Regions from separate parts of the Homo sapiens genome. Here region 2 is linked to region 1. Evidence: promoter capture Hi-C in 16 types of primary human blood cells and fetal thymus (Javierre and others, 2016). All regions are on one chromosome and are shown on one strand. Each heading gives the region's core, a stretch centred on a gene start or on the middle of the fragment in contact. The rest is flanking DNA. Distances are from core to core; before and after follow the strand shown.

Evidence for each region. The method cuts DNA at HindIII sites, captures the fragments that hold promoters and counts their contacts. A CHiCAGO score of 5 or more calls a contact.
Region 2: a contact is called between a fragment that was not itself captured here and the fragment with the promoter of CRNKL1 in region 1, in 1 of 17 cell types (activated CD4 T cells). The highest score is 5.8, in activated CD4 T cells.

Annotation. Positions count from the first base shown.
Region 1 is chr20:20,049,043-20,056,109 of GRCh38, forward strand. CRNKL1 (crooked neck pre-mRNA splicing factor 1) reads right to left here and starts at 3,424. Exons shown (of 14, transcript NM_001278628.2): 1 at 3,250-3,424; 2 at 1,428-1,580; 3 at 298-389. The coding sequence starts at 3,300. CFAP61 (cilia and flagella associated protein 61) reads left to right here and starts at 3,490. Exons shown (of 27, transcript NM_015585.4): 1 at 3,490-3,549. RefSeq lists enhancers at 3,279-3,448, 3,459-3,758 and a silencer at 3,849-3,898. The HindIII fragment of the contact is 2,238 bases long and covers 3,381-5,618 here.
Region 2 is chr20:21,103,943-21,111,009 of GRCh38, forward strand. LINC00237 (long intergenic non-protein coding RNA 237) reads right to left here and starts at 2,416. Exons shown (of 2, transcript NR_190203.1): 1 at 2,329-2,416. The HindIII fragment of the contact is 3,136 bases long and covers 1,072-4,207 here.

The sequences.
Region 1 (7,067 bases), core at 2,174-4,673:
TTGTTTAGCTGAAATTTGTAAAAATCTCAATATATACAAAGCAAATGAAATTGTGCTTCTTTAGCTACAACTGACAAGATCTATCTCTAAAGCCTCTTCTGCCACCCTCCCCAGGACTATTCTACCCCAGTACTCCTGAGGCCCTCAAGGGAACCCTAGGGTTCCATGGAACCAAAGTTGAAAATTTCTACCCGAGGCACAATCTTTTACCTGTGCTTTAACTTTTTCTTCTTTTCTTTTTGGTATCTGTTAATCTATGAATCATTATATACAAAACTACACTCTCAGTAATTTTACCTTTGAATCTCCTTTAGGCTTTCTTCCCATTGTGCGTATTTTATCCAGTTACTAATCACAGTCCTGTTTTTTCTTATATTATCTTCAAAAGTCTGGAAGAAGGCAAAAAGGGTCAAGTCAAAAGACAAATGACTAAAAATGACAGCACCCTTGGTCTATTTTAAGTCTTGTACTAAAATGGTTATTCATTTTGTTCATATTTAAGAGAAATTACATCCTGGAATCCTTGAGGAATAAGAAACCCACTACAGAAGGTTACAGTCAACTAACTGATACTTTAAAATGGTCTATGCTTGTCCCTAATAAAAAATGTTTTTGACTATTACCTTTAAGTCCTCTGGTAATTCTCAGAATTTCATATATAACAGCATTAGTGCTTTAAAACAGTCCCACATTCTAGAGTGAAGAGGTCAAATCAGATCCCAAAGTCTTCTCATGGTCCTTTTGCAGACCTCAATTCCTTTTCCTTTCTTTCTTTCTTTCTTTTTTTTTTTTTGAGACAAAGTCTTGCTCTGTCGCCCAGGCTGGAGTGCAGTGGCACGATCTCGGCTCACTGCAGCCTCTGCCTCCCGAGTTGCTGTGATTCTCATGTCTCAGCCTCCCGAATAGCTGGGATTACAGGCACCTGCCACCACGCCTGGCTAATTTTTGTATTTTAGTAGAGATGGGGTTTCACCATGTTGGCTAGGCTGGTCTCAAACTCCTGACCTCAGGTGATCTGCCCGCCTCGGCCTCCCAAAGTGTTGGGATTACAGGCGCGAGCCACTGTGCCCAGCCAGATCTCAATTCTTAACACAGAAGGTGGTATAGACAGAAGTACACAGTGCAGCCTTACTAAGCATACCCTCCTTCTTGTTGTCAGTTGTTCCATCTGCTAAACTTCCGCTCACTTTGATTCAGCATCAAAAATTATGCAGATTCAATTTCTTTACACTTTAACCAGACAACTCATGGCATATTTTATATAGTTCAGAAAAATGCTGTTATCTGGTAACCAGAAGTACATTATTCATGCGTCTGGAAACACTTAACCTCATCTTGCCCTACAGAATCCAACCAATGAGGAGCTTTTCAAACTGACCGATACAGTCTTAACAATTAGTGGACTGAAAGATACCACACTGACTGACCTTCCTTTTCCTTAGTTTATAATCATTTAATTCTTCTTCATCTGTGATCTTCTGTTGAGGTGGAGGTGGAAGAAGCTCAAGTTCTCTTTCTTTAGCCTCTCTTAAGAGTTGTTCAGCAGTTATCTGTACCTCAGCCGGGGCTTTGTTTTTCACCTTTTAAGAAAGAAGACATTTCTATTTTTAGTAGTTGCTCTTCACACAAGGCTTAAGAAACAAACATACATTTTTTAGGATATGAACTTTGTTAGTATTATCACAAGATGCCCTTTTTGTATGACATGTTCCCATTCCTCCATGAGACTGAAAAGAAAAAAAAAATACCGTTTTCTCTCTTATTCATAGTATCTACTGCAAAGCCATAGGTAAAAGTCTCAAGAGAAAAAGGTGGCAAAAATAATAGCAAGTTTTCCCTTTTAGATGAGTATAATAATAAACTTTGAGGCCGTCTAGGTAAAATTCTGACCAGAGGTTTTGTTTTATCAAAATGTGTAGCACATCTTATTAACAGCATTACAACCTGCATTTACAGAATTCTTCAACTTATTTAATGCCCCGGTGTATAACTGGGTTTGGTTTTACATGGCACTTCAAGTCAAAGGCAATTTCAGTAAGTTCTCATCATTAGACTGTAAGCTTCTTGAGGTCTTAGAAGCTTACAGTCTAACGTAGCTTAGAGCTGTGCTGTCCAACACAGTAGCTATGAGTCACATGTGGTGAGTACAAATTGAGGTGGACTGTAAGTGTAAAATACACATTGGTTTTGAAGATGAAGTATAAAAAAGAATAAACTACCTCATTACATTTTTTATACCGATTACATGTTGAAATGATAATATTTTGGATACATTAGCTCAAATAAAATATATATTATCAAAATTAATTTCACTTTTTTGCTTTGTTTTTACTTTTTAATGTAGATATGAGAAAATTTAAAATTTCATATGTGGTGTGCATTATATTTCCATTGGACCAGTGATGCCCAATAAAAGTTTATGTAGCTGAATTATAAAAAATGTTACTTAATGCCACATGTGGAGTAATGATGATAATGGTGATAGCTCATATTTAATAAGCACTAAGTGCCAGACACAGTGTTACTTGCTCTATATGCATTACTCCTGCGAGTCAGACAAATAGTTATGTAAAGGTCCAGTTCAAGAGAGTCATCCGGGCTCAAGAAAGACTGGAGGGAGGGTATCTGTAAAGGCTTCAAAGTCTGCCACATATTAAGCACTTGGTAAGTATTAGCTATCAAAGGAAATACCAGATAGTAAGTCTACTGTTTAATTAACTTATGATACTATACTACTCCTACCGTCTACTCTCGCCCTCCGCTGTCAGCTGGGCTAACTCCTATTCAGCCTTCAAGTCTCAGCTTAAAGGTCATTTCCTCAGCAAAATTTACTTTCAGGACCCCTTCATACGACCCCCTTATTCACGCCCATGGCATATTCTACTTTGCCTCTCGGTAACATCTAGCAAGGTCGTCTTTATACAGAAACTCGTGTTTTGAGTACTGCTTGTGGCCAGCGTACGAGCGTAGCTTCCCAGCGCCCAGTGCAGTGCCTGGCTCAGTAAATCTTCACCGAACCACCCCACTCCACTCCCCAGCAAAACCACCCCAGAACGAAGGCCACGCCAACGCGGGTCGTGCTCCGCGATGACAAGAGCCCGCGCCCCACCACCAGCTGCCCTTCCTCTCCATCTCTCAGGGTGAGCCTTCTCCCCGGCGGGAACACTCTCTCCCAACCCGGGCACCCTCAGGGCTGAGGGATGCCCCTTTCCTAGGCCACCTCCTACAAGGCCCCTCGCGATCGCCTACCTTGGCCACTTTGGGAATCCGCTGCTTCCCGGCCGCGGTGGAGGCCGCCATGTCTGCAGCAGTCGACCTCTGGACACCTGTCCCCGGCACGGACGCTAGAAATCGGCTCTGAGAGCTCACCGAAACCACAAAGCTTTCAGAAAACAAACAGGATCTCGGAACCGGAAGCGGAACTTGCAGGACTGACCTTTGACCTCTCGCTTGAGCCGTGACGGAGGCGGCACCGTTTCCATGGTGACCAGGCTGCGCGTCCTCCTTGCGGCAGCGCGTGGAGTGCGGCGTCCTGGAGCTGCGGATGAGGTGGGTAACGCCGTGCTGACTAGCAGCGACGCAAGGACTGCGGTGCAGGGCGTCCAGGGCGCATCCCCAGGTCAGCCTCCGGAACTGGGATGACCAGGCGAGGACGAGTGGCTCTGTCGAGCCGTGGCGCCCTGCAAGGGAGTAAGAACGGAGCTCCAATCTGGATGCTCGAGGGCGGGGGAAGAAGGGAGAGCGAGGAAACTACCATTCCCAGCATGCGACGGGGCGAGCTGCCGCCCTTTTAGGCTGCAATGCCTCGAGCATTGCATTCTAGTAGTCTCTGGGTCCACGCCCCCTCGTTTCTGGTTTCGGGACAGTTGTGCCCAAATAATTCTAAGGTGCCCAAATAATTAACTCTAAGGCTTGGAATTAAAAATAACAGAAGGTACTTTGAAGCCAGATATTAGGAAAAAATATAAATAGAGTAACTGGAAAACAACTCAGTCTTGTGATAAGAAACATGTTTAAATTCTGTGTGTGCCTTAATTACTCTAGTTAAATTTTCTTAGCCTCAATGTCCTCAACTATAAAACAAGGCTAATAACATCTGTTTCACTAGGATTAAAGACAAATGCTCAGTAGATGTTAGCTGTTATAATACTTAACCTGCCCTCAAAAACTGAAAAGCAAAGGTTAAGAGAATTTTTTTTAATAGACATTTTTAGAGAAGTTTTAGGTTCACAACAAAATTAAGTGGAAGACACAGAGATTTCCTCCCTCCACAGCTTCCTGCTATCAATTATTGTACCTCTTCCCTCCTCTAACAGCCTCCAACTCTTAAAAATATCCTCCACCAGAGCAGTACATTTGTTACAATCTTGAACCTACATTGACACATCATTATCACCCAAAGTTCATAGTTTATATTAGGGTTCACTCTTGGTGTACATTCTATGAGGTTGGACAAATGTATAATGACATGACTTGGCAGCTCATTTGTTAGGATAATTTCCACAGTTGCAAAGCTCTTTTGGTGTTTGGGGAAAATATATATTTATGTATGTAGTAATATCACGTCTACCAATGCAGATATTACTTTCAACAAAAGATTTATGCAGATTTCTAGAACTGCAGTCAGTTATAACCAACATCAATGTATTTGCCATAACTCTTTATTAACCATATTATTTAGATATTTTATCTCACTTTTCAAAATTTAAATAGAGAAGATTTTATATCACTTTCATAAAGCCACCTAACAAAATAAATAAATATTAAAAAGATGTTTCTTTGAAGTGATTTTCCTTAAATGTGTTACTGTAAACAATTGATTTACCAAATGAATCATTGGTTTAATCATCTGTTGCCTTTGCTCAAAAGTACAAACATGCTAGAATACTTTGCTTCTGATCACCATCCTTCTCTCTTACATTTCTGTTGTCTGGCAATTCAGTTCATCTCTGTGTGTGTTTTTTTTGTTTGTTTTTTTTTTTTTTTTTTTTTAGGAAAAATGTATTATCCTTCTTACTTTTTGCCATCAATGCTTTTGTAGATATACCTTCATGTTTACCTTCTTATTTCCCAGCATTTAATCTTGTATTCCACTTCTTTCTGATTTTATTCTTCTCAGAATATACCATCTCCTAGTTCTTTCTACAAGATTCTTTGAATTCTTTCAGTCTTTGTATGAAATTGTCTTTATTTTATCTTCATTTTAAAGTGATTGTTTAGGTTTATCAGTCTAGGTTAATGGTTATTTTTTCCTTTTATATTTTTAAAACACTATTCTAGTAGTTAGAAAACTATGGGCCGTAGACTAAATTCAGCCCATTGACTATTTTGTATGGACTGTGAATGAGCTAGGGATATATATATATATATATACACACACACATACATACACATATACACACACACATTTTACATTAAACTTTATATGTAGTTTACATTTTAAACATTTTTTAAAAATTACATGGCACATGAAAATTATACATAAGTCAACTTTCAGTGTATGTAAGTAAAATTTTGTGGGAATACATTCATGCTCATTTGTGCCGATATTGTCTCTGGTTGTTACTGTGCTACAATGGCAGAGTTGACTAGTTGTGTAGACAACATGTGGCTCATAAAGCTTAATGTATTTATTCTCTGGCCTTTTACAGAAGTTTGCTAACCCCCGTGCTACTGGCTTCTAATGTTGCTCATGAGAAATATTCTGTCAGTCTAATTATTTTTTATAGACAGTCTGTCTTTTGTCAGGTTCCTTTAAAGTTTTCTGTTTGTCTTTAGGGTTTTGTAGTTTTACTATATATTTGGAGTTTATTTGTATTTTTTGCTCTGAACTGAAGGTTCATGTCTTTCATCCATGCTAAAAGTAATTAGCCATTATTTTCAAATGTTTCATTTATTCCTTTTGGAATTCCCATAAGACAGATGTTTTTCATTCTGTCTTACATGTGTCTTTACTGAATTCTGTATTTTCTGTTTCTATGTGCTTCTTTCTAGATAATTTGTTCATAAGTATCTTCCAGTTTATTTTCTTTATTCTTCTGTTTTTAACCCATCCTCTTAGTTTAAATTTTAATAACCACGTATTTCATTTTTTAAGTTTCTGTTCTTTTTTAAATAATGACCTGTTCTCTTCTCATGACTTTTGTTTCTCTTTCTATATTTCTTTATTATAAACATACTTAGTTTGTAGTCTGTTTCAGAGTCTATCATCTAAAGTTCTTGGTGACTCCCATAATACACAGATTGTGTGGACTAGAATGCCATACCCACTTTAGTCTAGAATTTGGACTTCTCAGCAGTATTTTTGCTTTATTTTCTACCTAGAGCTTTGTGTAGAGAAAGCTTGTCACTTTCTTGGGCTGGTGAGTTTAATTTTTCTAGCCCCCTCACTTACCGAGGGGCCCATCCAAAGTCCCAGGTAGATGCATGGTTTAATTTTTAATTCTCTGTTTGGAGTGAGGTCCATTCTATCCCCAAAACCTGTGTCAGATCGGCTCACATCATTGCCACCTGGTTGGAGAATTTCCCTCGCTCGCTTTCTTTCTTCTTTTCTTGTTTTCTTTTTACCAAAGTCAGTTATCTAATTAATTATACTTCCTTATTTTATTCAGAATTTTTATATACTTGTAGCATTAGTTTATGATATGTTTCACAAACAAGATGTCTCATTCCAATTTTGCTTTCAATTTAAAACCAGAACAAGGAATGACAATATTTATGGTTAGCTTCGATAGGAGTCTAGACATTATTAATTTCTCCTTCATTGTTTTCCCTGTTTTGAGCTCACTGGCTAGTATATAATAAAATGGCTTTCCCTATGAAGGAAAGAAGGGAGGGAAAGAGAGAAGAGAGACTTACAGAAATTGAGACAATGAGAGAGAAATTGAAATCATTTTGTGACCTACTGTTTTTGTCAACAGCATTTCCCAAAGTGTCCTTCTGGAACGTTAGGTTCTCCACTGTTGCCGTCATTAGAGATTCTCTTCCCAAAGAGTGTCGGAAAGGCTGGGTTATACAAAGAAAACAAGTTGCTTTATTATGGAACCTCTCAAAGATGTTAATGGGCC
Region 2 (7,067 bases), core at 1,390-3,889, 1.1 Mb after region 1:
CTGACGATAATCTGGGAAATACAACCCAGTTTGGAGTCCCTTATCCCACCCCCTCCCCACCTCCATGTCATTACTGAGACGCTCAGTCCTTTCTTCCAAGGACTCACTTCTGTCTAGGACCTTCCCAGTCCAGCTTCTGGAAAACAAATGTAATTCCTGGGAAATATAATGCGTCCACCAGGCGCACACTATTAATGCTGTAATTAGGTGTGGTACCTTTGGGAGAAACAGGTTAGTCCTGGGCTTTTAAATTGTTCTCCTTGGGCCCAGCCACTATTTTTGGTGGCACCAGATATAAGGGGGTCAGTTTGTGTCTGAGAGCAGCACAGATGAGGAGCAAATTTAAGGAATGATTTTCATAACAAGGACAAAAGCGGCATGCGGGAACCAGAGCGTTGGCCTTTGGTCAGGTCAGTACCCCGAGGTGGAGCGTCAGCAGTAATATCAGAGGCTGCTTCTCCTTAAAATGACTCCGGCTGCAGAGGCGGCCGCAAGCAACAGCCTTGTCCATAAATCCTCTTTAGTTACCACTAACTCACCTTGAGGGGAGTGGCCTCCTCTCAGGGCCTTTGGGCCAGGACAGAGAGGTGCGGCCCCTGGAGAAAGATGCAACCAGGTCTGCAGCCGCTGGGGGCCCAGGACGCGGGGCAGCTTCGGAGCACTTCTCCTCTGCCCCCCACCCTCCAACCCCTGACTTACTGTTTTTTTTCCTAAGAAGGGTTTTGTGTGTTCCAAATATCCTGGAATTGCAGTCACAACCTACATCCTCTGCTAATTTGGGGCATTTCAGGCTGAGCCTCCTAGAACCAATTTGTGGCTTGTTTCTGCTCTAGCTAGGCAGGTTTTGTTTACATATTCTCTCTGGGTGTTTTGAGAGGACACACACAGACAGACACACAGACACACAGGCGCGTACACACACACTCATATATTTTTTCTATACTGTGACCTCTGTTTACAAGCCCATTTGGTTGTTCATGATTTTCCCCTTCCTTGGTGTTACCTCCAAATATCTGGAGAAGCTGGGAGAGAAATGGTCATGGCTGCATATCCAAGGAGCCCAACCTAGGAAGCTTCCATCTTTGTCTAGGAGGAAGGTTCGGCCACTGCACCTGGAGCCCGAAGCACCGGACACCAGGCGCGCCGTTCTGGCGCTCTGCAGGGCCTCTCTGGGTGAAGGAAAGCGGGCAGCCTGGGTTCAGCCCACCGGGTCCCCTTTCGAATGCCATTTCCCAGCTGAAAATCCAGCCAGCACAGCCTGGACGCCGAGCCCTCTGGAGCCCTGGTCAGGACGCTTTAATTTTCACCCTCCCGCTCTGGGTCTGAACAACCCCCCCGTCCCCCGCCCCCCACCCCAAGGTGTTGTTTCCTAGGGTCTTCTGGGGACATCCCTACCTGTCGAGGGCCTGCCCTCCTCGGGCTAAAAGTTCAGCCCTTCGACAGAGCCATGGAATAAGAGGCGACTCTCCCTGTGTCCCGCAAGTGGTTTCTCGAGGTACCCCTCTGAGGCTGCAGCCCCCGGAGCAGACCTGGCTCTGCATAGCAGCAAAAGCAACCGCCTACCTGGGCCGGGGCAGGACTGTGCCGCGGCGGCAGGGACAGTGTGAGCGCCGCCGGCCCCCTCACCCGGCGAGGGCCCTGCGCTCACACTTCTTCCAGGGGAAGGAGTGGCCACGCCTGAGCCCCCCTAAACGACCTCTTCAGGAGAAAAGAGTGCCGGCCAGGAGTCCCTCCAGTAACCTCAGTTTAGATCGGGTTTTCGCGCCTCCCCTAGGAATCCGGCTGGAAACCCCGGAGACTCTGCGCCTAGAGTTTTGCGGGCGTCTCTCTGCCTCCCCGCAGCTTCCGGCTCTCGCAGGCTTCATCCACTCCCTCTTCCCCCGGACCTGCCTGAACCCCGCCGAGCACTAGGCAAGGCCGGGCTCTGCGGGCTGGGGAAAAGAAGGGGCTTGGGGTGGCCCAACCCGACCGCCACCTCGGCCCGGCCTGCGGGGAAACCCCACAAAGTCAAGGCGCGGGGCGGGGTCGGGGGGATGGGATCCAGAGAGAGACTCAGAGGGGCGCCCCTTCCCCCCAGGGGTCTCCGAATCCTAGGGACTCTCTAAGCCCCCGTGGCAGAGAAAAGAGGAATTTTTAAAAACAAATCTTCCCTTGCCTGAGGCCATTTTCCAGCCTTCCACGCGCCTTTGCCGGGGAAAGAGTCGATGACTCGCCCTGCTCATCGGCTCAGACCAGAGCTACCCTGAGCCCACACCTCTCCTCCTCTCTGCAAGACATCCCTTCCGCCACCCCCAGTCCCGCCGTCCTCCCCTCTCCAGACCCACTGACCTTGGGAAGGCGCAGACCCACCGCTCGCCAAGCCTCGCCCCGCACTGTGCACGGGAAGAGGGGGCTCCGCGCGCAGCCCAGTCCGGTTAGCTGGTCGGCGTCGGCGGGGCTGCCGAGGTGGCGCAGAGCTCCCCTCCCCCACGCCTTATAATTTAATCACACGCGATATTAAATTATCAAGCTGCTCATTAATCATCACGCGAGTTATTGGGACTGAACACGCCGCCGCGTGTTTTGACAGCCCAGAACCATTCGCGGGGGTCGGGGTGTGTCTGGGTTTGGGGGCTGGGGGATGTCTAGCCACTCTAGAGAAACACTGCGAGCCCCACGCGGGCTGGTGGAGCCTCTTGCCTGGAAAAAGATGTGGAAACGCGCAGGCTGGGCGTCAGAGTTTGGTTGAGGGTCTGTCAAAAGCCCAAACGTAACCCTCCCAGGCCACTTTCCTTAATATTTGGATTTTGATCACGATGATTAAGACAGCCGGTGATGTGTAATCAACAGCATCTTAATTTGCAGTTTTTCAGGAGGGTGAATTTGACCTGACTCTGAGCATCTTCATTGCCCAGTGTGGACGGTGTGAAGTTAATGCGGTTGAAATACAGAGGGAATCAGATCACCGATGTCATTTCAAAGAATAACTTTTCCCTGATTCAAAGGGTCTCTCTTGCCTTTCACATACTACAAATGTGGAGAGAGAGACATAAAGAGTTTTAAAAATTAAATTCTTAATTTGGGGTATTCATTTTTAAAATGATTTACGCGTTTCGCCCTGGAGTGGTTAGAACCTGGTTTTATTTTCTAGGGTTTTATTTTTCCTTTTCTCTATTTCAATTAAAGGAATCTCTTTAAATGAATAAACCAATTAAATGAAACTTCTTATGATTTCATTCCATACAATAGAAGAAACAAATGATCATTAAAAGTTGTCTTAGTGTTACAAAGGAGAGTAATTAATTCTCAGCATTCACACCAGCAAAACGATAAACAAGAGGGAAAACATCCCCCAACTCTGGAAGAGGTGGTGTAGATGTGAATCTGCAAACCAACTTAAAAATATATATACCTAGTTTGAAATTAGTCTTTGGAAGAAATGTAATTCCCAAATTAAGTCTTTTGCCACCTTAGCATAAACCAAGGCTAGTTTTTAGCGGAAGACCAGTTCCTCTGGGCAAGAGCTGTGAATTTCAATAAGTTGGCAAGCCAAGTTTTCTACACAAATCAGAGATTAAATCAAGTTGTTTTCCCTTTTTAAAATATAAAGTATAAACAAATACCAAACTGGGGCATGTTCCAAATCCTCTGCAGCTAAATTGCATTTAACTTTTCCACCAGAAAATGTGATCAATTTAGTAAGCCAATAAGTACATAAATACTACCCCCGCTTATGTTTTATCGCAGAATATCATTGATAATATTAAATGTGTCCAAGACCGCTCATGAGTTATTTTCTCTTCTGTTAATCTGTTGTCTGCATTTTTCTACTCTGTCCACTAACACACAAAGAGATGGGTATCAAAACTCAACACACACACATACTGCTAGGTGAAATTCATACATCCTAAAGAAGCTAGTGCAGAGGGGGAAATGCCATAATATGGATGTGATATTTTTTCATAAGCCAACGGTGAAAAATATATTGACTATCTTTATCCAGGCAGTTCATGCCTACGTATGCTCTGCAGTGACAAGGACATTTGTTGTCAGGGACTGAGAGATGGCTTTCAATGCCAGGAGCTTTTTCTGGTAAAAGTGGGCCATTGGCTAAAAAATTGTATCTGAAGACTTTGTTTTAAAACTGGAGATTTTGAACATAACCTGAATTATCCAGACAACATGGTTTGGTGAACTTGGCAATCGTGTACTTCAAGATTACATGAGAAGCTTTTGAAAAAAATTAAAACATAAGGTTTTATTGAGTAGAGTCACCAAAAATGGGAAAAAATAATTCCTTTCACTCATTTGCCTATTTTCTTCATTGTACTGTTTTTGCATGATCACCCATTTGATGCTCACTGAAATGCTAAAAGTGTGAATTCGAGATGAGAATTTATCTCCACTCCTGAGGCTCAAGTTATGGAACTTGTTCACCACTAGAGCAAAAGCAAGAACCCACATTTCCTGACTCCTAGTCCAGTCCTCTCTCCAAATAATAGCTAACACAAACATTTAATTTGTTCTTTTTCATAGGCCCTCCCTATCACTAAATAAGATTGAACACTTTAATTCTCTGAAGCTTTGTCAGAATGTAGCAAATTTGGAAAGCACTCTTGACTAGGGGTCAGTTCAGCCCTTAGTTATAGCTCTGTGACCTTGAACAAGTCACTCTCTTATTTTAGTTGGGTTCCCCTAGAAGTCAGCCCTGAGCCAAAGATGAGTGCAAATATATTTTTCAGGAGGTGATCTCAGGAAGCAACACAGTAGGGGAAGTAGGGAAAAGAAACAGGGAAGGGGAGGGAGCAATACAGAGTGAATTACCAAGCAAGTTACCATTTTATTGCAACTGGAACTTAATACTACTAGAGAAACCCTGGGAGGCAGTGTAGACGCCTGCTTGAGGGACAAGGGAATTGTACCATCCTATTATTGGTTGAGGACTTCTGGGGTGGGCATTATTTGCCCACACTGTAGAGTTGCCTTACAGGAGGTGAAGAAGACATTGGCCAAAGAAAGACCCTAGGTAAAGGGTCATAGATGCTGGCAGTTGGAGGGTGGGCCGATGTGCATGGAAATGGTGAGTCCCATTGTGTTTTCCAAAAACAGCTGTGTCTGTATCTCCCAGCCCACGTGTTCTTTTGCAATTGACTGTGCCACTCTCCCATCAAGAAGTGGGACTTAGTTTTCCACCCTTTGAATCTGGATGGGCCCTGTGACTGTTTTGACCAATAGAACAGTGAAAATGACATTGTACTAATTCCAGTGTGGGTGTTAACTGGCCAAGCAGCTTCCATTTCTTGTTTATTGGAATGCTGGCTCTTGGGACACTCCCTCTTAGAACCCAGCCACCATGCTGGAGACAGATCAGGTAAGCGTGCCGTTCAACAGCCCTAGCTAAGCTCCCAGCTGACTGCCAGCATTAGCCACCAATGTGGAGTGAGCAATGACCATGAGAATGAGTCATCTTGGATGTCCAGCCCAGTGGAGGCTTCAGAAGACTGCAGCTCTCACATCTGACTTAAAAACACATAAGAGATCCTGTGATGGTTAGTTTATGTATCAACTTGGCTAGGCTATGGTACCCAGTAACTTGCTGTGAAGGTATTTTATATATGTAGGTAACAACTAAAATCAGTTGACTTTAAGTGTTAGAAATTATCCTCAGTAATGTGAATGGGCCTCATCTGATCAGTCGAAGGCCTTAAGAGCAAAAACGGAAGTTTCCTGGAGAAGAAATTCTGCCTCAAGACTGCCGCATCAACTCCTGCCTGCATCTCCAGCCTGCCAGCCTGTGCTACAGATTTCAGATTTGCCAATCCCTACAATTACATGATCCAATTCCTTTAAGTATATATATATGGTATATCTATATACAGGGTATATGTATACACACACACACACACACACACACATATACATATATATATATACCTATGTCTATAATTGGTTCTTTTTCTCTGGAGAACTCTGGCTGAAAAGGATCCAAGCCAAGAACCACCCAGGTGAGCCCAGTAAACCCACAGAACCATAAAAGTAATAAAAAGCCATTGTTTATCACACAGCAATAGATAATGAGAATAATCAGAACAGGAAGTGACATTGTCCACTCTGCTTCTCTGTACCTCAGTTTCATCATCTCTGTAGTGAATATCTTGTCCTAGATTGACATTTTAGCTCTTTCGAACTTTCTTGCTCTCAAATTCCCAAGACTCATCAATGAGATGGACTATTCTGCTGTCATTAAATTGACAATGCATATTTTAACACCAAGCTGAAAATCAAATGAATAAAGATTTAAATACGATAAGATGGACAGATTACTAAATTATAAAAATTGTGGCACTGAAGAGGTTATAAAGTTAATTAAATAGTCGGTAGGTTAAGGAAAAAGTGGTTTTATTCTTCTTTATTAAGTTGCTTAAATAACCCTGAAATATTTCTGTGGTTTTATGATGAGAGTTTTTATTGGCGCTTTTGTGAAATAATGGCAATGACCTTGGCTATGGGCTTTCTACAGAACAAGAGGTAACACTTCTCATCAATGATGTCACCAAAATATTCTAGAAATCAGGTTGAATATCATAATAGAGAAAAAAACATGAGGTCCAATTATTTTCCTACTCTTGGAATGCCCAGGTGCATTTTCTGAGACTTGAGGGGTCATGGGAATCTTTGTATTTCTTTTCCTTGCCCATAGCCGATAACTCTTTTCTTTCTGTTTTTTTTTTATTGCCCAAAGATAATGATGTCACAATTTCAACATGTTTATTAGAAATTTATTTCTATAGAGAAATTCAGCTCTGAAATATTCAAGGAAACTTAAAACAGGGAAAAGAATGTTGGAGAAGGAATCCCATGGAGTGTTAGAGTGTGAAGTGGTAGAAAATTCCAACTTATTGCTATCTTCGTTGCTGTACACACCTTGCAATATCCAGTTGGCCTGAGGCTCTCACTTCATTTCATATTGTCACTTCTAGACCACAATTTCATTCCCTCTATTTTTTTTTGTTTGTTCTGTTTTTAAGAGACAGGGTCTCACTATGTTGGCCAGGCTGAAGTGCAGGGGCTGTTCACAGGCACTATCA